Linked DNA regions of Homo sapiens: region 1 is linked to region 2. The links are contacts of gene promoters, found by promoter capture Hi-C in blood cells and fetal thymus (Javierre and others, 2016). All regions are on one chromosome and are shown on one strand. The core of a region is centred on a gene start or on the middle of the fragment in contact, and the rest is flanking DNA. Distances in the headings are between cores, read along the strand shown. Region 1 has its middle 34 kb from the start of GNAS. Region 2 holds the start of RAB22A (RAB22A, member RAS oncogene family).

Region 1 (4,688 bases), core at 744-3,243, 550 kb after region 2:
GGTAATGCGGCGGACTCTGCCTGCGGGCAGCAGGGCCGCCGGGGAACCGGGGAGGGGGTGGCAGGGCTGCCTGGTGGGGCTAGGGGCTCCGCAGTGGGAGGAGGGGGTCCAGCCAAAGGCGGGAAGAACTTGCTAGAAAGTTCCAGGGAGGGACCCTAACTGCCCTGGGAGCGGGAGGGGATCTTTGGTGGATTCGGGTGGCCGAAGTATATGCCCTCCAGGGAGAAAAGTGGTGCCGAGCGACACTGAGGGTCGTTTCCGGCTGGACAGGCCAGCGCCAGCAACCGTAAGCTGGACAGGCAGGGGCTTCAGGTGAGCCAGGAACTGCCGGGGAGGGGCCCCGGGGCCCCGGGACTCCCCTGGCTAGGCTGGTGGGGTCCACGGTGGGCTGGGGTCATTGGGGAAGGCGCGCCCCGCCTCGCCTGGCACGGCTGCTTGGACTCAGACAGCTTGTCGTTGGTGTGTGTTGGTGTCCATATTCTGTGTTCGCCTGTGCATGATACGCTGAAGTGTCCCCTGTTCCTATCCCGGCACCCCCAAATTACCCGCCGACTGTGTACTTGTACTTGGGAACGGGCTGTGTTGTGGTTTGCGCCATGGCCCGGGCAAAAAACTTTCGCTGTTCGCACACTCTGGTGGTACCTGCGCCCGGGCGCTCTGCGGCAAGCGGTGCGGAGGACACGCGGGGAAGGTGGCGGGGCCTCCCGGGAAATAAGCGGGGCCCTTGGCCTGGGGGAGCGGGGAATCGCTTTTCGCCGGCCTCCGCGTAACCTTGTTTCTGTATGTCTTTCTCTCTTTTTCCTTTTGCGCTAAGCGTTTCCTCACTTCTCATTCGTTCGCCAAACCCTCCCGCCTTTACAGTTGAAAAACCAGACACACAGGTATCTGGGGCGCCCGGGGCTGCACACCTCAGTTCGGTATTCTGCACACACACAGCTCGCCTGGTCGGGGGATGGGGGAAAGGGGAAACACAACCTGCTGTAGGCAAGTCCGGATCCCAAACCACTTGGGGGCTGGTTCCAAGGGGGTGGGCGTGGCTGTGTTTAAAAAATATGAAATAATTTTTCTTCCTAGCGAAGAGCCCGAGGTAAGCCAATCATTTTTACAAAGAGTACAGTAGGAGGGGCTTGGTTTAAAAAGATGGGGGTTATGTGTTGTGAGTGGAATGTCACCTTTGTGTTTGAAATGCAACTAAAATAAAAGTTTTCAAAAAATGCTCTGAGTGTATTTGAAGTGTGTGGACAAAGTATGGCAAAACCGTGAATATGACTTGTGAAAACAAGTAAATGTTTGCATGTGAATTTTTTCAGGCAGCTTTAGCTGGGGGCAAAGAGGCTTGTCAAAGGTAAGGTCTTCTGCAAATTGGCTCTGGATACAAAAAATATATAAAGGTATTTTGATTACAGAAGTTAAAAATCATGATATTCTTGTCAGGAGGGTATTTTGGTGGCCTTCTACCTTCCCCCTCCTCCTCTGCTCACATTTCCCCACCTCTCGGTGCCCTCCCCTCTCCAGGATCCCCCTCCTCACCCCACAGCAAGACCCTCTCCTGTATCTCCCAGTCTTTCCCTGGCCATTCCCAGTTCCCCACCCTCCCCCCAGCCCCCCAAGACTTCTTAACTTCAAATCTGGGGCATTAAATATTTTTGCCACATTTAAACAAAGCATCAATTAGCAATGGTCTGAATATGTGGTTTAAATGAAAACTTCCAAACAAACTTCACAAGCTTAATTTTTACATTTTATTCTCTAAGACTTTCTCTAAGACCTTCCAAGGGATTTCAAGATCACAGTTTTTAAGGCTGCGCTACATTTGTTAAATATGTTAGAATGTGTGATGGTTTTTTATTAATGGCATTATTGGCATATAACTGTGCTATTGTGATGTGGCTCTCACAAATCACAATTTTAAATGTGAGGATCATTTTGTGTATGCCCATCCAGGTAGATCATGACATTGTCATTTACCTAAAGACATATAATATGGTCGTTGTTTTAAATTTCAAATGTCTCAACTACACTAAAGCTACCAAACATTAAATGACAATGCACTGGTTTCCCTGCAGACAACTGATTTTGCCATAACAGACCCATTTCAATATTCCAAGCACAGCTCTGGGAAGCAAACCTGTAGATTGGGGGTGGGAGGACATAAATGCATACAGACAGGAGACCCAAGTGACAGTGTGCACCTGACCCCTAATTGTCAAATTGGTGATGTGCCTTACATGCGGGGCCTCAGTTGCCTCCTTTGTGAAATGAAGCTTTCCTAGCAGATCTCCACTAAGGAATGCTTTTGCACCATGATTTGAGTCTTCTATTCTTCCTGGAGGTGGGGGGTGGAGGAGACACAGTCTACTTACATCAGGACTGGAGACTTATACCATAGATTGTGCAGCCATCAATCCTGCAGCAAACTGTCCATGTTTGGGACCAGTCTTAAGAATATTAGAAGTTTCCTTTGTCTCCCCTTATTTTGTCACCAGGAGTAAAAATTAACTTTAAGAAAAGGAAATTTGCTGGGGTCACCTTGTACCTTGTCCTGGCTTTGTTCTCGGGTGCTGGTAGCCAAACACCTTTGGATGCAGCATAGTCCAGAAGGTGGGCTGGCAAACCATGGGCCATGTCTAACATAAGCCTGAAATATGATAGCCAGTGTTAGCTGCTAGCTGAAACTGTACCACTGCAGTTTGTCAAAGCAGGCTACAGTTTTTGACCAGGCTTCCTTTTGCAGAGGTGACGTACCTCTTCTGGACCTGAATTATTGATGGGGGACAGGGAGAGGAGGAAGGATGAGGACTTACTCACATGTAGGACAAGACTTTTTACTAACTTTTTAGTCCCAACATATAAAACAAGACATCCATACATCCCTACCACTGAAAATGCAGATCAAATGGCTGTCCTTTGATATGGTTGCTAATTTGTGACATGCAGATTCATCTGTTGCTTGAAAAAATGTATGTTCATGTGCTTATCCTTTCTGTTTTTATTGCCGGGACAATTTAATCTCATTACAGGGAATCCTAAGAAATCAAAGAGAGAGAGAGAGAGAGAAAGATAGATAGAAATCAGTAATATGATTAAAATTCTAAAATATCTAAAGAGTTCTTTTTAAAGAAGCCTTTTTCTTACTCAACACTATCCACCAATAGACTGTTTCCATGTTTCTGTTACGTTTTTAAATAATTTTGGTGGCTTAAACATTTTTTAAAACTTCATTTAGGTGTGATTTCCTCCTTAAGAACTGAATGGGGCTAATAGATCAGAGTTTCTTAGTATCTGCCACATTTATTAAAATTGTGTAGGCAAATGCTATATATAATAATGGCTATTCTGCTATGATGCTTTATTTATACAGTGAATCACAATTAATTGTATGATTATTTATGCCACCAAGTGCAACAGTATGCATTGTATTCCATCTTGCAGAAGCACCTTTTTATTTTTCTTTTCTCTCTCTCTCTCTCTCTTTTTTAACATACAGCCATTTTTTTATATTCTAAATGCCTCCACTGAGCTTTTGGTGTGGTAGGAAGGACATGGCTTATCAGGCCACAAAATTTTGGAGTCCAGATAGATTTATTATTTTCTCTTTTCAGTCTCCTAGTAAGATTCATGCTTCTCAAAGTCTGAAATTCTACCTTGGTTTTAATTCTTACAGATTTCTCTCAAAAAAAATTTTCCCATATAGGTAGATTAATGTTTAAAATTTACCCCCATTATTTACAATGGAAAACTGGTTTTAAGCAAAAAGAATTGGGGGTCATCCCCTTACTGTATGTATCCTCCTAACTTGAAAAGGAAAATCTCACTGCTCTCAGTATGATTAGTAACCAGTAATAATAATAACACATTCTGATTACATTTTTTGTTTGTTTGATTTGAAACAAAGTCTCCCTCTGTCACCCAGGCTGGAGTGCAATGGCAGGATTTCTGCTCACTGCAACCTCTGCCTCCCAGATTCAAGCAATTCACCTGCCTCAGTCTCCAGAGTAGCTGGGATTACAAGCGTGTGCCACCATGCCTGGCTAATTGTTTGTATTTTTAGTAGAGATGGGGTTTCACCATGTTGTTCAAGCTGGTCTCGAACTCCTGACCTCAAGTGATCTACCCAGCCTCCCAAAGTACTGGGATTACAGGCATGAGCCACTGTGCCTGGCCACATTTTACATTTTTTAAAGCCTTTCATCTAGTCATATTTGTCTCTTGAAACAGTCCTGGGCAATAAAAACGTGATAGGGCCCCATTTCATAGGCAAATAAACCAAAAGCTCAGAGATTAAATATCAGACACTTTTTTTTTTTTTTTTGAGAAGGAGTCTCGCTCTATCGCCCAGGCTGGAGTGCGATGGTGTGATTTTGGCTCACTACAACCTCTGCCTCCTGGGTTCAAGCGATTCTCCTGCCTCAGCCTCCTGAGTAGCTAGGATTACAGGTGCATGCACCATGCCCGGCTAATTTTTGTATTGTTAGTAGAGATGGGGTTTCACCATGTTGGTCAGGCTGGTCTCAAACTCCTGACCTCGTGATCCGCCCGCCTCAGCCTCCCAAAGTTCTGGGATTACAGGCATGAGCCATCGCGCCCGGCCATAAGGCACTTTTACTCAAAGACTGCAAGGTAGGTAAAGGATCACAAATTTCAAATTCAGATAATGCTTACCAGAAATGTGATGATAAGCTATAAAG
Region 2 (4,238 bases), core at 1,308-3,807:
TATCCGTTGTATCAACGGAAATGATACAACTCCTTCAATCTGAGCATGCCCATCGGCTGAAACATTCAGCTGGGTAAACCTGGATCTATACTGTACCAGGCTCAACAGTGTTAAATAACTACTAATAATGATCACATGAATAACGGTAACAGCAGCCATTATTTACCAACTGTTTATTACATACTAGGCATTGTGCTAAATCCTTTATTCATTTAATCCCTTATAAAAGCCTTTTGAGGTGGGCCACTATAATGCCCATTTTACTGATGAGGTCGCTGAGGCATAGAGTGGTACAGCGACTTGCCTGGGATCACACTGACAGTAAACAGTGATACGGGATTTCACTCTTGGCCATCTGATTCCACAGACACCGGGCTCTTAACTATCAGCTTGCTTTACCCCTTCAAAAGTGTTATGCTACTTTAACAAAACTGCCCCTTGTTGGTTTGTTTTGTTTTGTTTTGTTTTTTTGAGACGGAGTCACTCTGTCGCCCAGGCTGGAGTGCAGTGGCGTTCACTGCAACCTCTGCCTCCCAGGTTCAAGCAATTCTCCTGCCTCAGCCTCCCGGGCAGCTAAGATTAGAGACGCGCGCCACCAAGCCCGGCTAATTTTTGTATTTTTAGTAGAGACAGGGTTTCACCATGTTGGCCAGGCTGGACTCAAGTGATCTGCCCGTCTCTGCCTCCCAAAGTGCGGGGATTACAGGCCTGAGCCACCGCACCCAGCCGAAACTGCGCCTTCTGAGTTAATGTGTGTAAAGAGTTTAAGACTGGGCCGGGCGTGGTGGCTCACGCCAGTAATCCCAACACTTTGGGAGGCCGAGGTGGGCGGATCACGAGGTCAGGAGATCGAGACCATCCTGGCTAACAGAGTGAAACCCCTTCTCTACTAAAAATACAAAAAATTAGCCGGGAGTGGTGGCGGGCGCCTATAGTCCCAGCTACTTGGGAGGCTGAGGCAGGAAAATGGCGTGAACCCAGGAGGTGGAGCTTGCAGTGAGCCGAGATCGTGCCACTGTACTCCAGCCTGGGCTACAGAGCAAGACTACGTCTCAAAAAAAAAAAAAAAAAAAAAAGAGTTTAACGCTGTCTGGTCCATGGTAAGTTTTCAGTAAACACCAACTCTTACTATTAGGAAACCTGAAGATGTGGAATGAAAGATGAGAGGAAGTACTGTATATGACTGGCGTACAGTACGCCCCCAATTAATGTTAGCTATTTGGATGATTTATATAGGGCTTCTTCACCAGCAAGCACTCCGGTGCTCGGTAATTTTCTGTTTACAAGTAGGCTCTCCCCACACCCTGTGAGCTCCCTGCGTGTAGAGCTGTTTTCAACACATCCTTGCAGGTTCGGAGCCCAACACGTGGCCCCCAGAGCAAATAGCTGCTCAGTAAGTTTCTTGACAGGAGAGAAAACGCTTCCTTCCTTCACCAGAAATGCGAACTTGGATTTCTAAGATGACACCTCCCCCAGCTACCAGCCCTTAACATGATTCCAAAAAAGAGGGCAAGAAGGGACAAGGGTCCCACCCAAGAAATGCGGGGGCCAATGGGCTCCATGGGATAAGAGATGGAGCCGGGCTTGTGGCCAGGACACTTGAGAAGTCCGTGCAACTCCGTGACCGGCCACACCGAGAGGGGGACCTCCCAAACCCCCCAGCAGTCCTAAAAAGTCCCTAGGAAAAGGGCAAGGCCCTGAGAGGGAAGTCACCCACCTCCCAGGTGGCGGACCCCCCGCCCGCCCAGGGTCGACTAGGACTTGGGACTACCCCCTCCGCCCATCCCACGGCAGCTGCAGGCGCAGGAAGAAAAGAAGTGACAGGGAGTCCAAAGTTTCCCCAACAACAAAAATCCTTCCCCCGAGGGAAGGGAAGGGCTCCCACCCTCAGCCCGCCCCGCCCAGGGAGGAGGGACCGCCACCAGTGGATCTAGGCAGTTGGGGGTCCCGCTGTTCTGGTCCCGACAAGGAGTGCCTGGCTTGAGGTTCCCCCGCCCCGCGCTTCGTGCACTCTGAATTCTTTGAGAGGGTCCCAGGGAGGGACAGGGGTGCCCCAACTCTTACTTACAGTCGTCTAAGTCATCCTGCAAGTCCACAAAGTACAGGGGGATCTCTGAAAACCAAGAAACACACAAGAAGTTACCAGGGGGCTGCGGCGAGAGGGGACGGGGTCGGGCAGGGGCCCCTCGGCCTCGCGGGGTGGTCACGGGGCGAGAGAGAGAGGGGCACCCCTGGCATCCCCCGAGCCCAGCCCCACTCACCCGCCATCTTGGGATGGGCATGGAGGCGGGACCGGCAGGGGCGGGGCCCTGCAGACAGGGGCGGGGCCCTGCAGACAGGGGCGGGGCCCTGCAGACAGGGGCGGGGCCCTGCAGACAGGGGCGGGGCCCTGCAGACAGGGGCGGGGCCCTGCAGACAGGGGCGGGGCCCTGCAGACAGGGGCGGGGCCCTGCAGACAGGGGCGGGGCCGTCGGCTTCGGGCCCCGCCCCCGATCCGCGCCGGCCGGCCGGCCCCGCCCTCTCAGCGAAGGTGGCTGCCGAGGTGGGCGGGGAGGTCAGGTGACGCGGCCGGCGTCCCAAGATGGCGGCGGCGGCGGCTCCCGGAAGGCCGCGGCGGCGTCCCGGCTGCTAAGGCGGGCCCCACGCGGCTGGCAGCGGACAGGCCGGACCTACGGCCGGAGGACGGGCGGCAGCCGCCTCTGCGCGGACCGGGGCTGGGCCGTGCGGCGGCAGCGGCGCCAGGGGATGCTCTTGCTGGGCCTGGCCTCTCCCTTCTCAACTTAGGGCGGCGGCGGGCCCGCGCCCCTGGCTCCCGGGCCATGGCGCTGAGGGAGCTCAAAGTGTGTCTGCTCGGGGTGAGTGGCGGCGGGTCCGGCCGGGAGGGCCACGGGAGGCTGGGCTGGCGGGGACCCCGGATCCCCCCTGTCCCCTCATCCCTTCCCCCCTCCCACGTCCAAGACGCTGTCTGCCAGCCCCGTGGACCCTCCCTCCAGCTCGGGAGCCGTCCCGCCCACCTCTTGCACTCTCGAAAAGGTCCTGGAGGCCGAAGGGACCCTTCCCCTTCCCCTCCCTGGAGCCCGTGGACTCTTCCCGCCCCACAAAGAGCAAACAGCCCCCCCTTGCCTCTCTATTGCATCTGGGTTAAGAGAGGTTCTTAAATAGTTTTCTCCCAACTTACCAAGGTATTAGTTGGGAGTTGGCCAAGTCTTCCAAAGTAAAACCAATAACAGGTCTTTAGGTTTTACAAGCAGCATTAGCCTACTTTGTCTCTTGGGTGTTTTTGAACTTGTGGGATACCCCTGCCACTTGTCCAAAGAGTTACTTTGCCAAGTAACTCTTCCTGTGGAGAAAAGGGGTGTTCAAATCAGGAAGCCCCAAAGACTAGTTTGAAGCTTCAGCTTCCTGTCTTGTCAGGAAAGACAAGGTGTTGGCCATTTCAAAGCCTTCTTTCTGAAATTGATGCTGTCATTCCAGAGTTTCTGCCTTAAAGATCGGCAGGAACTCCAATAACTAATCTTTATTCCCCCAAATAGGGTGGGGCTAGGATTCATCAGGGATTACTCAGAGGTAACTCAGGAGTTCAAAGTTTACTAACATATGTTAAAAAGCAAGTGGACTTGTTACTTTTTACACGAAGCAGAAACTTTGGGTCTCTCAAAAGGTCCTAATCTGTCTTAACGGCAAAAACCTCTCCCTTTTAGTACAGTTGGAATTTCCTAATTACTCTACTGAATTTTTATGACAACCGCTTTTGTGTTCCTCCGTTTATAAAATTTACACGTCTAGGGTGATTTTTCTAAAATCCTGAACTTATGCCACAAAGTAGTTTTTGGTGTCTGCCAAAAGGTAAACTTTTTCTCAGTCCCTCATCTCGTTCTCTTTCAGGATACAGGTGTAGGTAAATCGAGTATTGTGTGGCGGTTTGTGGAAGACAGTTTTGATCCAAACATCAACCCAACAATAGGGTAAGAGACTTTTATTTGATACACATCTAAAGGTGCATTGAAAATCCTTCCAAATACATAGTGTGTTACAGGTGTAGGCCCTGCGCTTTGTAGTCATTGAATTCTGAGTCGCTGGTTCGCATCATCTCTGGAAGGACTTGAAAGAGTCCAGTGAGGATCTGTGTATTTTAGGAAAATTATCTTCGGACTTGTTGGGGGTGAGAACTTCAAAATGCAAATATGAATTGGAGTTCTACTAATTATTAGAACAGACACAGAAGCTTCGGTCTATAA

Evidence for each region. The method cuts DNA at HindIII sites, captures the fragments that hold promoters and counts their contacts. A CHiCAGO score of 5 or more calls a contact.
Region 1: a contact is called between a fragment that was not itself captured here and the fragment with the promoter of RAB22A in region 2, in 1 of 17 cell types (activated CD4 T cells). The highest score is 5.7, in activated CD4 T cells.

What each region holds. Positions count from the first base shown.
Region 1 is chr20:58,855,333-58,860,020 of GRCh38, forward strand. It overlaps a transcript of GNAS not described here. Among named protein-coding and RNA genes, the nearest start is that of GNAS, 34 kb to the right of the region's middle. RefSeq lists enhancers at 1-135, 136-1,011. The HindIII fragment of the contact is 537 bases long and covers 1,726-2,262 here.
Region 2 is chr20:58,307,158-58,311,395 of GRCh38, forward strand. It overlaps RAB22A (RAB22A, member RAS oncogene family), which reads left to right and starts at 2,558. Exons shown (of 7, transcript NM_020673.3): 1 at 2,558-2,855; 2 at 3,886-3,965. The coding sequence starts at 2,820. It also overlaps the pseudogene PPP4R1L. RefSeq lists silencers at 2,027-2,586, 2,627-2,956. The HindIII fragment of the contact is 7,008 bases long and covers 1-3,390 here.